Linked DNA regions of Homo sapiens: region 2 is linked to region 1. Evidence: promoter capture Hi-C in 16 types of primary human blood cells and fetal thymus (Javierre and others, 2016). All regions are on one chromosome and are shown on one strand. The core of a region is centred on a gene start or on the middle of the fragment in contact, and the rest is flanking DNA. Distances in the headings are between cores, read along the strand shown.

Region 1 (5,657 bases), core at 1,683-4,182:
CCTTTCTGAAAGACATGAATGTTTTCATTCATTCTTAAACAGCTGGAGCCTAGAATTTGCTGCTTCATTCGAGTATAAACTTTTGCTAAGAGTCTAAGAATTGGAGAAAAGGCTGAAATGTGAATGAACATGAAGCCCTCAAACGTCTGGAGGATTATCAGCAGAGAAACTTCCATCTCCTGTGCTACCAGCCCTGTCTGATAAATGAGCAATTTGATTGGCTATTAGAGCGTAAATCACTAATTCAGGCTACAGAGTATGGATGTATACAGTCTTTAACCCAGTGATCACATCTTAGATTTCTAGATGTTTTCAAAATGAACAATTGTTGTTGCCATTTGATGAGAGGGTCTGAGCCTATGTCTCTACATGTATGCACAGCATACATGTTGTTTTCCAACATTTTATTATTAGAAATTTCAAATACACAGAAAAGTTGAAAGAATTTCATGGAAAACATTCATGTTCCCATCACCTAGATTCTATCATTGACATCTGGCCATACTGTTGTTGCTTATCACATATCTAGCCATCTGTTTGTCCCTCTGTCTGTCTATGAATCCAAGCAGTGCATTTCTTTCAGTTAGTTCTTAATGACAGCAATAGAAGAGTGAGGGCTGCTTTGAAAATTGGTGTTATTTCTACATTTGTTATGAAGCATTATCCTTACTTGTCAGTCAATTCACATAGGGTGGAGTAGGGTGTTGGGGGTAGGAGGGGGTTACACCTCCAGTTATTAGAAACCAATTCTCTAAATTAAAGTACTTATTCTAATAACTCTTGAGAAATCTCCTTTAAATTTGCTTAAACATTTCCTGTGGTCTTTGTAGATAACCTCTAGTGGGAAAAAAAAAAAATTGAAGTGACCATGTTTGCCCTAAAGGCTTTGGTTAGTTCACAAAACCTGTTTCCGCAACCCAGAGTTGCTTCAAATAGACTTCCTCCCTTTACAAAGGCTTAATGATTTGTGTATTGAGTTGTTTCTTTCTGGGAGACATCTCACAAATACTCCAGTTGGGAAAAAGAGATAAATTGCTCCATCCAAAGTTTAAAAGAATTTCTTCAGGGTTTTGTAACTTGGACACTTGGTGTTCTGAAAAGAATGTCTTTGTGCCTATTTAAAATTGCAGAATCCTTTTCAGTTTGTTTCTAGGCTGTTATGCCAAAGAAGTAGCTCTGTAATCCCCATTTGTCTTCACCTGACATCAAATTCCACTTTGTGATGGAGAATTGTTCCTTGATTTGACATTCTTTTAAAGAAAAATGAGCCAGCATTGAATTCTTAGCTGAATACCAGTAGTTGGTGTATGTGTGTATGTGTTTCCAATTATAGACAGAACCTGGTATAGTACTTTCAGCTGAAATCTTTGATGAAGCATATGAAAATTACATTGATCCAGATGGGATAGAAAGCTGTAAGACTGGTTGCACAAAGCCCTCTGCAAGATTTGTCTTCTTTCTTAATGTTACACATCTTAAGCTCGAAAGAGAGAGAAACCTGAAGCAATCATGGCTTAAAATTCCCCAAGATGTCTCATTGGCTAATTTGGGTACCAAGTAGATTGTGGGGAAATGGGGACAGCTGGTGGTATTTAGTGTCAGTAATTAGGGATTCTCTTTAGGTTATAGAGAACTCTTAGATATAAAGGTGAGCTGCCTTGTCAGGGAAAGATGGCTTCCAACCCAGCTGTGGAAATAATCGGGCTGGGCACGATGGCTCAAGCCTGTAACCCCAGCACTTTAGGAGGCTGAGGCGGGCGGATCGCTTGAGCCCAGGAGTTGCAGACCAGCCTGGGCAACATAGTGAGACCTCATCTCTGCAAAAAATAAACAAAATTGGCCAGGAGCGGTGGTTCATGCCTGTAATCCTAGCACTTTGGGAGGCTGAGGCGGGCAGACTGACTGAGCTCAGGAGTTCGAGACCAGCCTGGGCAACACGGTGAAACCCTGTCTCTACTAAAATACAAAAAAAAAAAAAAAAAAATCAGCCAGGCGTGGCGGCGTGCGCCTATAGTCCCAGCTACTTGGGAGGCTGAGGCAGGAGAATTGCTTGAACCAGGGAGGCAGAGGTTGCAGGAAGCCGAGATCGTGCCACTGCACTCCAGCCTGGGGACAGAGTAAGACTCTGTCTCTAAAAATAAATAAATAAATAAAATAAAATTAGCTGGGCATGGTGGGACATGCCTGTAGTCCCAGCTACTTGGGAGGCTGTGGTGGGAGGATCCCTTGAGCGCGGGCAGTTGAGGCTACAGTGAGTAGTGATTACACCATTGCAGCCCAGCCTGGGTGACAGAGCAAGACCCTGTCAAAAAAAAAAAAAAAAAGAAAAAAGAAAAATGAAAGAAAAGAAATGACCACATCATGAGAAATCTAGACATAAAGTCTTTAACTTTGTATATCCACTGCAGAATCATGCAATGCCCAGTGTGAGGGAATGGAGTAGGATAGGAGAAAACTACCTGCCCCTGCTGGGAGTCAACAATTTTCTTAGATAAAACATAAAAGCACAATCCATTGATAAAAAGGATGCAGCTGGGCGTGTTGGAAGCACACAGGACATGGGAGGGAGCCTGGGCTCCACCCGCAGGGTGATGGCCATTCCACCCAAAGGGGCAGGAGTGGCTGGAACGAGCCTGGGGGCAAGGTCCTAGGCCCCGTTCACTTGGCCTCCATTCCTTAGGGCAGGGTCCCCTGGCACTCACCACTCCCGAGTCCTTGCTTCCTTCACCAGGATGAGGAGCTGGAATATCGTGGGGACAGAGGCCTCAGAGAGCCACCCAATGAGTCCACAGCAGCCATGGACAGTCCGTGAGGGGGAGGGTGTGCCTGCAGGGGGCGTGGCCCCATGCCGCCCGCCACCTGCATGCGCACTGGGCCGACCAATCAGCGAGGAGCGCGGGCAGCCGGGGCGGCTGCTGCTCTCGTGAGAACAGAGGACCCAGGCCCTCGGAGGAGCTTCGCGGTGCCAGCCTCTGCAGGTCCTCTGAGGGAGCAACATCAGGGCTCCCTCAGGTGAGACGCCCTCGGTGGGGATGCGGGGAAGGCGGGCCAGAGGCCCTTTGGGGAAGAGGGTGTGAAGGGCGGGGCAGCCAGGCTGATCTGTGAGGAAATGGCCCAGGCATTGTCGCCTGGGGCCTGGGTCAGGGCAGGGAGTTGGAGCTGCCTGAGTGGTCCCCAGGACCCAGGAGGGTCCCGGAGGCCTGTGCATGTGTGCAGCGTTTGGGGGGGGGTCGGGGGGTCAACGTGGGTCCGTCTTGTCTGGCTGCCCATCAGGACGGGATACTTGGGGTCACCAGGGGTCCCCTGGGCGTCCAGGCTGGCGAATGGGCAGTCCCTGCCCCTGTCAGAAACAGGTGCGTACCGGCTCATTCCCATGGAGATGGCTGGGGAGATCCTGTGTCACCCCGCGGCCCTCCCGACTCCACTGGGTCGCTGGGGAACCCAGGGGCAGGGCCAGGCTCTGTCCCAAGGGCACTGCAAGAATCCCGCAGAGGCCGCGGAATTCTGCGAGCTCTGCAGCCAGCCCCGGGGAAGCGCTGGACGGGCCAGGACAGGAGGGGATGATGGCATCTTCTCCGCGTCCCCTCCTGCTCCCACGGGAGACCCGGGGCGCCCTTGAACCTGCGATCCTGATGATTTTCATTTAACACGCCTCGTTTCCTTAGTGTCCTTAGTGTGTCTTTGCACTCACCAGGTTCAGAGGTCGCCTCTAGCTTCCCAGGCCAGTCAGCCACGGAGCCCGTGGGCAGGAAGGGCAGCAGGATGGCTGCCAAGGACCAGTTGGAGGTTCAAGTTATGGCCGCCCAGGAAATGGAGCTTGCAGGTAAACACAGCCCAAGGGGACCTAGAAGAAGGTGCACGCCCAACAGTCTGTCTGCTTTCTGGGCGGGGCGCACATGGGCAGCCCGAGGCCCCCGGCCCCTTCGTGGCTTTGGAGCTCACCGTGCATGTGCTGAGATGCCCCAGGTTTTCAAAGCAGGCTCAAGGGCCTTAGGCTTCCCGTGGGAGGCTCCCCCTCATAGCAGGGTTACAGATGCTCTCAGAGCAGCTCTTCTCCATGGATGCGGTCCTGACATCCAAGGGATCTGACCTGTGAACGTTGTTTACTGGGACTTGAACCCGAAGGGCTTCCAAAAATGCCTCCGTAAAATGGTTAGGAGCCGGCGATTCCATGTATAGCTCTGCGGTAAAGCTTTAATTGGCGGAGAGCCAAAAAAGTCTACAAATAGTACGTTTCTCTATGAAAAATGTCCACAACAGCGTCTTCCTCTAAAAAAGGTTTGTCTTTTTTATTTTAATGCAGGAAAGGATCCAGTAAGTCATGAGCATGAGGAAAGAAAACCTGTTACAGAGACAAAGGAGGGAGATGTAACTGATGAGCATGGGGAAAGAGGATCTTTTGCTGAAACAGATGAACACACGGGGTAAAGTGTTTAAGTCCCTTTTGCCTGTCAGATAAGGTCTTTTAGGAAAAGTCAGCTTTGGATCATGTCATCACTGTTATGTTCTATGCAGAACATTTCACACAAGACATTTCTTCCCAACAAACAAGGCCTTTTGTGTAGCATTATGTTAAAATTGTGTTGCAACTTTTTGTTACAGGGTTGATACCAAGGAGCTAGAAGATATTGCAGGTATGTTTTACGAGCTATTTGTGGTTTATGAAAATTGTTTTCAACCATACAACCCTTACAGTAGGTTATATGAATTAGTGGATGACAAGACTGTCTTAAATGCCTTCTTCTCATATATAGCATTTAATGTAATCTGTTTAATAATTTTTCTTACTTACTTTTTTAATTGTTGATGTGGAATGTGAGAATGCTTCTAATAATGGTGAAGCAAGAGGGGTGGCTTTTCTTTCATACACGTGGAAATTTAATTGTTTGGGGGATATTAGAGGACATTGGAGGAGAAACAGCTCTATTCGTTCCTTTCAGTGTACACACATTAAGTCATATATCAGGTTTTTTTTTAGCTTTTACTTTATGTTTGGGGGTACATGTGCAGGTTCGTTATATAGATAAATTGCGTGTCACAGGGGTTTGGTATACAGATTATTTTGTCACCCAGATTATAAGCATCGTACCTGATGGGTGGTTTTCCATCCTCACCTTCCTCCTACCCTCCAACCTCAAGTAGGCCCAGGTGTGTGTTGTTCACCTCTTCCTGTCCGTATGTACTCAGTTTTTAATATGAGTTTTTCATCTTCCTAATTTAGCTATTGTCACAACTTTCTAATTTTGTTTTCTTTAAAGTACCAGAGAAAATTGAATTCTCTAAAATGATGATTTTCTATTATTATTCCAGTAACAAGCTGTGTAGTAGAAAAGGAAAGACAACTTTTCTACCCAGTGAGAAGCATACAATTGGATCCAAAAACTCATAAACTTTATATTGCCATGTGAAATATTAGTTGCACTGTTATGGGACCATATTTTCAAAAAAGTTTGAGAAAATTTCTGTAGAGATTATGAAGACAATACTCTTATTTTTAAAAAGCTTACTTTAGTTTTCAGCTCTTCTATAGCGATAATTCATATAAGCAGTATATTTGGAAAGCTTTGCTCTGCTTGGTGGTGACAAAGTGCCGGTTTTGTCTAATACAATGAGCATTATAGATGGATACTGTATGTAAAAAAATTTGTATTATGGTG
Region 2 (5,657 bases), core at 997-3,496, 53 kb before region 1:
CACTTTCTTGAAATTTGTCAGCCACCTCTCCAGAGCTCAGAGAAATTTTGTCCCAGGCTATTGTCTCTTCTATGGGCTTATTCATTTCCCCTGAAAATCATTCATTACACCTCAAAATTGCCTACATTCCTCTATTTCTCTCCCTTCTGTGAAGAATGTGCTATTTAAGCTTCACCCATCTGGCCCTTCTTTTAGTATCATATTTTGTATGGCTCCCATACACACTTACACATTAATAAACTTGTATGCCCTTTCTCCTCTTTATCAGTTTATTTCAGCAGACTCAAACCTTCAGAGGGGAAGGGAAAAATTCCCTTTGCCCTTACATAGAAGTTGGGTGTTTTGTTGCTACTGTCTGTGTTTCCTTTTCTCTAAAACACAATAATGATTCATACTCCAATATCCTTCATGAATTTTTTTGAAAATAAGCAGGACAAGTTCTACTTTTGTCTAGAAAAGTATTACTGTAAGACCAAAGAGCTTCCACACATCCCTGTTGAAAAAGGTCATGATGACTTCCTGTAAGAACAGTGGACCTAAAAATATGAACCAGAATCCATCACAGCACCATAGCTGGCAGCCCAGTAATGTATGACATAAGGAGACAATATTCTTATTCAGGATCAAGGTTAAGAATTGATTTTTTTTTTTTTTAAATAGAGATGAGGTCTTGCTATGTTACCCAGGCTGGTCTTGAACTTTTGGCCTCAAGTGATCCTCCCACCTTGGCCTCCCAAAGTTCTGGGATTATAGGCATGAACCTCCACAGCAGCCTGATTGATATTTTTTAGTGTGCCAAAATTTATTTATTTGTCAACAACCTTTCCCCTCCAGTTTATATTCAAATAAAATATCACACATGAAAGCCACTTTTATTACGACATGCCTATGATAGCAGAGTGATGGATGAGGGAACAGGCTGAATGTTCAGTATAAATGCCCTAAAATCCCTGCATTCTTGGTGATTCTTCTCTTTTTGTCTAATTGTGTGGCAACATCCCCTGCTCTGACTTACACCTCACCATCTTGTTTAGGCCTGGACATAGACTTCGCATCTTTACCACACCAGACATGAAGCATCATGAGTGGCTTTAGATATTCAGGATTTCTCAAAGTCTCATCCCAGAGCCACCTATATCAGGATAATCTGGCTGCTTATTAAATATCGCAACAATCTAGGTCTCACTTCACAGGTACTGAATAAACATTTCTGGAAGTGGAGCTTGGAAATCTGCATACTAATCAAACTTTCCCAATTATTCTATGTACTCTGCAGTTAGAGAAGTGAAGAATCCAATGTTTAGGTCAATATTCTTCTCTCTGGAGACTGACCTTGTCTTAGTCAGCATGAGCTGCTATAACAAAGTACCAGAGACTGGGTGGCTTGAACAGTAAACATTTATTTCTCATGGTTCTGGAGGCTGGGAAGTCCAAGATCAAGGTGCTGGCAAATCCAGTGTCTGGTGGGGGCCCACCTCTTGGTTTGCAGATGTCTATCTTCTCATTGTATCCTCACATAATGGAGAGCAGAGAGCAAGAACAAGCTCTCATGACCTAATTATGTCCTAAAGGCCCCATCTCTTAATACCATCTCATTGGGGGGTTAGGATTTCATCATGTAAATTAGGGGTAAACACAAAACATTCAACCCATAATAGACCTTAAGCCAGAGTGTTATGCATTGGACCAGAAGCCAATGGCACCACCTATCTCCTTACCCTGCTGTCCAAGATGACAGGGGTGAAGGCAAGAAACAACCCCAATTCACTGCAAATGAGAGTGTATAATAGGACACTGGTAAGAGAATAAAAAAGCTAGTCAAGAGTTTGGATAAAATATTTGCAAATCATGTATCTGATTTTAAAAACTCATATCGAGAAATATCTAAAGAACTGTCACATTCCAATAATCAAACAAAACAAACAACTCAATTAAAAAATGATCAAAAGATTTGATTACACACGAGAAACAGATGGCAAATACACTCATGAAGCTCATGAATGTTCAATATCATTAGTCATTAGGGCAATGTTCAATATAATTAGTCATTAGGGCAATGCAAACTAAAAGCACAATGCAATGCCACTGAAAACCCAAGAGAATGTCTACAGTTTTTACTTAACTATTTTTAAATATTTTCTAGATATGGGGTTTCACTCTGTTGCCCATGCTGGAGTACAGTGGAGTGATCCTAGCTCACTGCAACCTCAAACTCCTGGGTTCAAGCGAGCCTCCTGCCTCAGCCTCCCAAGTAACTGGGGCTATGCCTGGCTTATAATAAAAAAAAAAACAAAAAACAAAAAAACAAAAAAAAAAACTGACAATACTGCCAAGGATGCAAAGCAATTGGAAATCTTATCAAATACTAGTGGAAATGCAAAATGATACTGCCACTTTGGAAAACTGTATGGGAGTTTCTTTTAACACAGCATACAACTCAGCATTTCTACTCCTAGGTAATTTACTAATAGAATGGAAATGCTTGTCTACGCAAGTACTTCTAAGAGAAAGTTCATAGCAGCACTGTTCATAATTGCCCCAAACTAGAAACAATCCAAATGCTCTATTAATAGGTAAATGTATAAACAAACTTTGGTATATCCATGTAATGGAATACTGCTCAGATATAAAAAGAAACAAGTACTGATATGCACAACATAAATGAATCTCAGAAGCGTCATGCTGAGTGAAAACAGTGAGAGACAAAAGGCCACATTTTATATGGTTCCATTAATACAACATTCTGGAAAAAACAAAGCTATAGGTACACAAAACAGATCAGTAGTTTCCAGGAACTGGGGATTGGTGGGAGGAGACTGACTTCAAAGAAGCAAAGTGGAACTTTGTGGGGTGATATACTCAATATCTTAGTTGTGGTGGTAGTTACATCTCTACATTTGTTTTACAAAACTCATAGAATTGTATTCATAAAAGGGTTAAATTATACTGTAGGTAAATTTTATATCATTAAATCGGACATTAACAACAACAACAACAACAAAAAGTCTATGATAGAGTCTGTGGGCCCACAAAACATGTGCAGTAATATGTTCACCATTTCCCAAATCAAAACTTACTTGTGCTAGTGGAACTAAAATAAGAAAGAAGTGATTCCATAAAAAATATACAGAGGAGGCCGGGCGTGGTGGCTCATGCCTGTAATCCCAGTACTTTGGGAGGCCAAGGCGGGTAGATCATGAGGTCAGGAGTTCAAGATCAGCCTGGCCAAGATGCTGAAACCCCATCTCTACTAAAAATACAAAAAAAAAAAATAGCCTGGTGTGGTGGTGGACGCCTGTAATCTCAGCTACTCGGGAGGCTGAGGCAGAGAATTGCTTAAACCCAGGAGGTGGAGGATACAGTGAGCCGAGATCACGCCACTGCACTCCAGCCTGGGTGACAGAGTGAAACTCCATCTCAAAAAAAAAAAAAAAAAAAAAAAAAAATATGCGGAGCAGAGAACCAAATCCCCCACCATGATGGAGGCTTCCGAGGTCCATGATGTGGGGTTTCAGTGGCAGATACATTGACTTCCTAATAAGGAAGCCTCTGCCAGTCCATGGTCATTTCTCCCTAAGCAATCCTGTGTGCTCTTTAGAATAAGAAAGAAATTAACTCCAAATCATGACAGATCCAATAAGTTATACATTAAAACAACTCATATGGAAGTTGAGCTGCAGGAAATCAATGTGGAAAATGTAGGGCTAATTCCCATTGCATTACCAGTCCCACTGAGAAAGCTAAATTCTGCTCTGAAAACAGTTTCAGGACAAGTACATTCGATAGTCTCTCAAAAAATGGCAAAGAAAATCAAGTAGAAAGTGTTCTGTTTTTGTTCAGAAAATGACTATCAACACAACAAGAGAGCAGTGGAAAAAATAAATGTTTAAAAACAAACCAAAAAAAAAAATAAGAAAAGAAAGGGAAAGATATTGAATCACCCCATTGTTTTGATTTCCTTGTGCCAACGACAAAACCTGAGTGATTGACATTTCTTATTTGCTGACTTGATCAGACTATTTGATATCACACAGACATGGCAATTTTTCCCGTGGCAATCCCGGGGTGTCATCTCAGATTCTGTAAGAAAGGACCAAGGAATATATAATTGTATCAAGCTGCCATTTAATGAGGCACTAGATGCATCTCACAGACAAAGGTCAAAGTTTGAGATAGCAGAAGGGTTGGGACTTTAGGTAATCTGAAAACAAGCACTGTGTATCATTAGAAAAATTGTATGAAATGCCTATTTGGGTGAAACGAATTTTACTTGTGATGAGTAATGGCTGTTGTAAAATATACCTTGTAGAGAAACAAGCTTGGACATTTCTGTTCTTCCTTTTAGCATACCAGCCTTCAGTGTTGTGACACTATAGGGTCTTAAAATACTTGCCCCTGTTTATTTGCTTTTGCATAGCTGGTCAGGATTTTGTAGAATTCAGTGGCACTCCAGTGGGGAGCAGCTGGGACTCAGGAATTCACTTTGGAAGGGAGCTGGCAGCTGGGAAGACCAGGCAGTTCTCTTTGTGCTCAGGCCTTAGGAGAGTTGTGCATTTGGCAGGGGAATGAGACTTCTTGGATACTCAGAAAGGACACCACAGAAAGATCTGATTTTGCTCGTTCTACATATTCCACATGCTTTTCACTGCCTGCAACTGTCATTTCAATCAAGTTTTCATTACAGGGGAAATTTTCCTCTTAAAATATTTGCTTTCATAGGAATTCTGTCTGTGTCAGCACTGTGGTCAACCCCAGTGTCAGGAAAGTCCACTTTTAAAGATATGGGTTGGTGTGAATGCATATAAAATGATGTGAGAGTGTATTTACGCAGATGTGAGTTTGCTGGATTCTTCGTACCTCGTGACCCTCTAACTTTCTGTACTGCTGATTCAATTAACCATGCCTGTGGCACAGGAAAGAGATACTCTACTCTTTAAAAAATTAATACAATGAATGGAATTGGGAAAATAAGTGAAGAAAGATTGTAACTGTTTCATTTTTTTTTTCTAAAAAAACCCTTTTTTTCTCATATCCAAATCAAAAATAGTGATACTAACTTCTATTAAGTTAAACAGATGCCTTCTCTACAGCCCAGCAATTTTACTCCTAAGTACATAGCCAGGAGGAGTGAAAGCACAGGTCCATAAAATACACCAGTATTCATAGCAGCTTTATTCACAATATGCCCAAACTGGAAATGATCCAAATGTCCATCAATAGAAGAATGGATAAACAAATTATGGCATATTCTTACAATGGAATAATACACAGCAGATTAAAAAAAGAAAGAATAAACTGATACAATCACCTGGATAAATCTCAAAAACATTATGTTAAGAGAAAGAAGCCAGATGCAAGAGTACATTCTGTACAATTTCATTTATATGAAGTTCACAAACAAGCAAACCTAGTTTATGGGAGTAGAAGTCAGAATAGTGGTTCACTGGAGTGTGAGGGGCATGGGGGTTAATTGACTAGGAAAAGGGAAAAAGGAAGCTTTCTAGAGTGATGGAAAGACATAGATGTTTGTGTGGTCAGTGGTTTCCAGGAGGTATATTTAGGTAAAAATTCATCAAGCTATACACTTAAGATGTGTGCATGTTACTGTATGTAAATTATACCTCCATTGAAAAACAAAACATGGATAATGATAGTTG

What was found. The method cuts DNA at HindIII sites, captures the fragments that hold promoters and counts their contacts. A CHiCAGO score of 5 or more calls a contact.
Region 2: a contact is called between a fragment that was not itself captured here and the fragment with the promoter of FAM9C in region 1, in 1 of 17 cell types (non-activated CD4 T cells). The highest score is 5.0, in non-activated CD4 T cells.

The regions. Positions count from the first base shown.
Region 1 is chrX:13,041,895-13,047,551 of GRCh38, reverse strand. It overlaps FAM9C (family with sequence similarity 9 member C), which reads left to right and starts at 2,932. Exons shown (of 8, transcript NM_174901.6): 1 at 2,932-3,012; 2 at 3,695-3,823; 3 at 4,304-4,424; 4 at 4,603-4,634. The coding sequence starts at 3,763. LOC105373133 (a long non-coding RNA gene) reads right to left here and starts at 2,819. Exons shown (of 4, transcript NR_171577.1): 1 at 2,703-2,819. The HindIII fragment of the contact is 8,868 bases long and covers 1-4,194 here.
Region 2 is chrX:13,094,066-13,099,722 of GRCh38, reverse strand. LOC105373133 (a long non-coding RNA gene) reads right to left here. Exons shown (of 4, transcript NR_171577.1): 4 at 3,928-4,080. Among named protein-coding and RNA genes, the nearest start is that of FAM9C, 52 kb to the right of the region's middle. The HindIII fragment of the contact is 4,149 bases long and covers 172-4,320 here.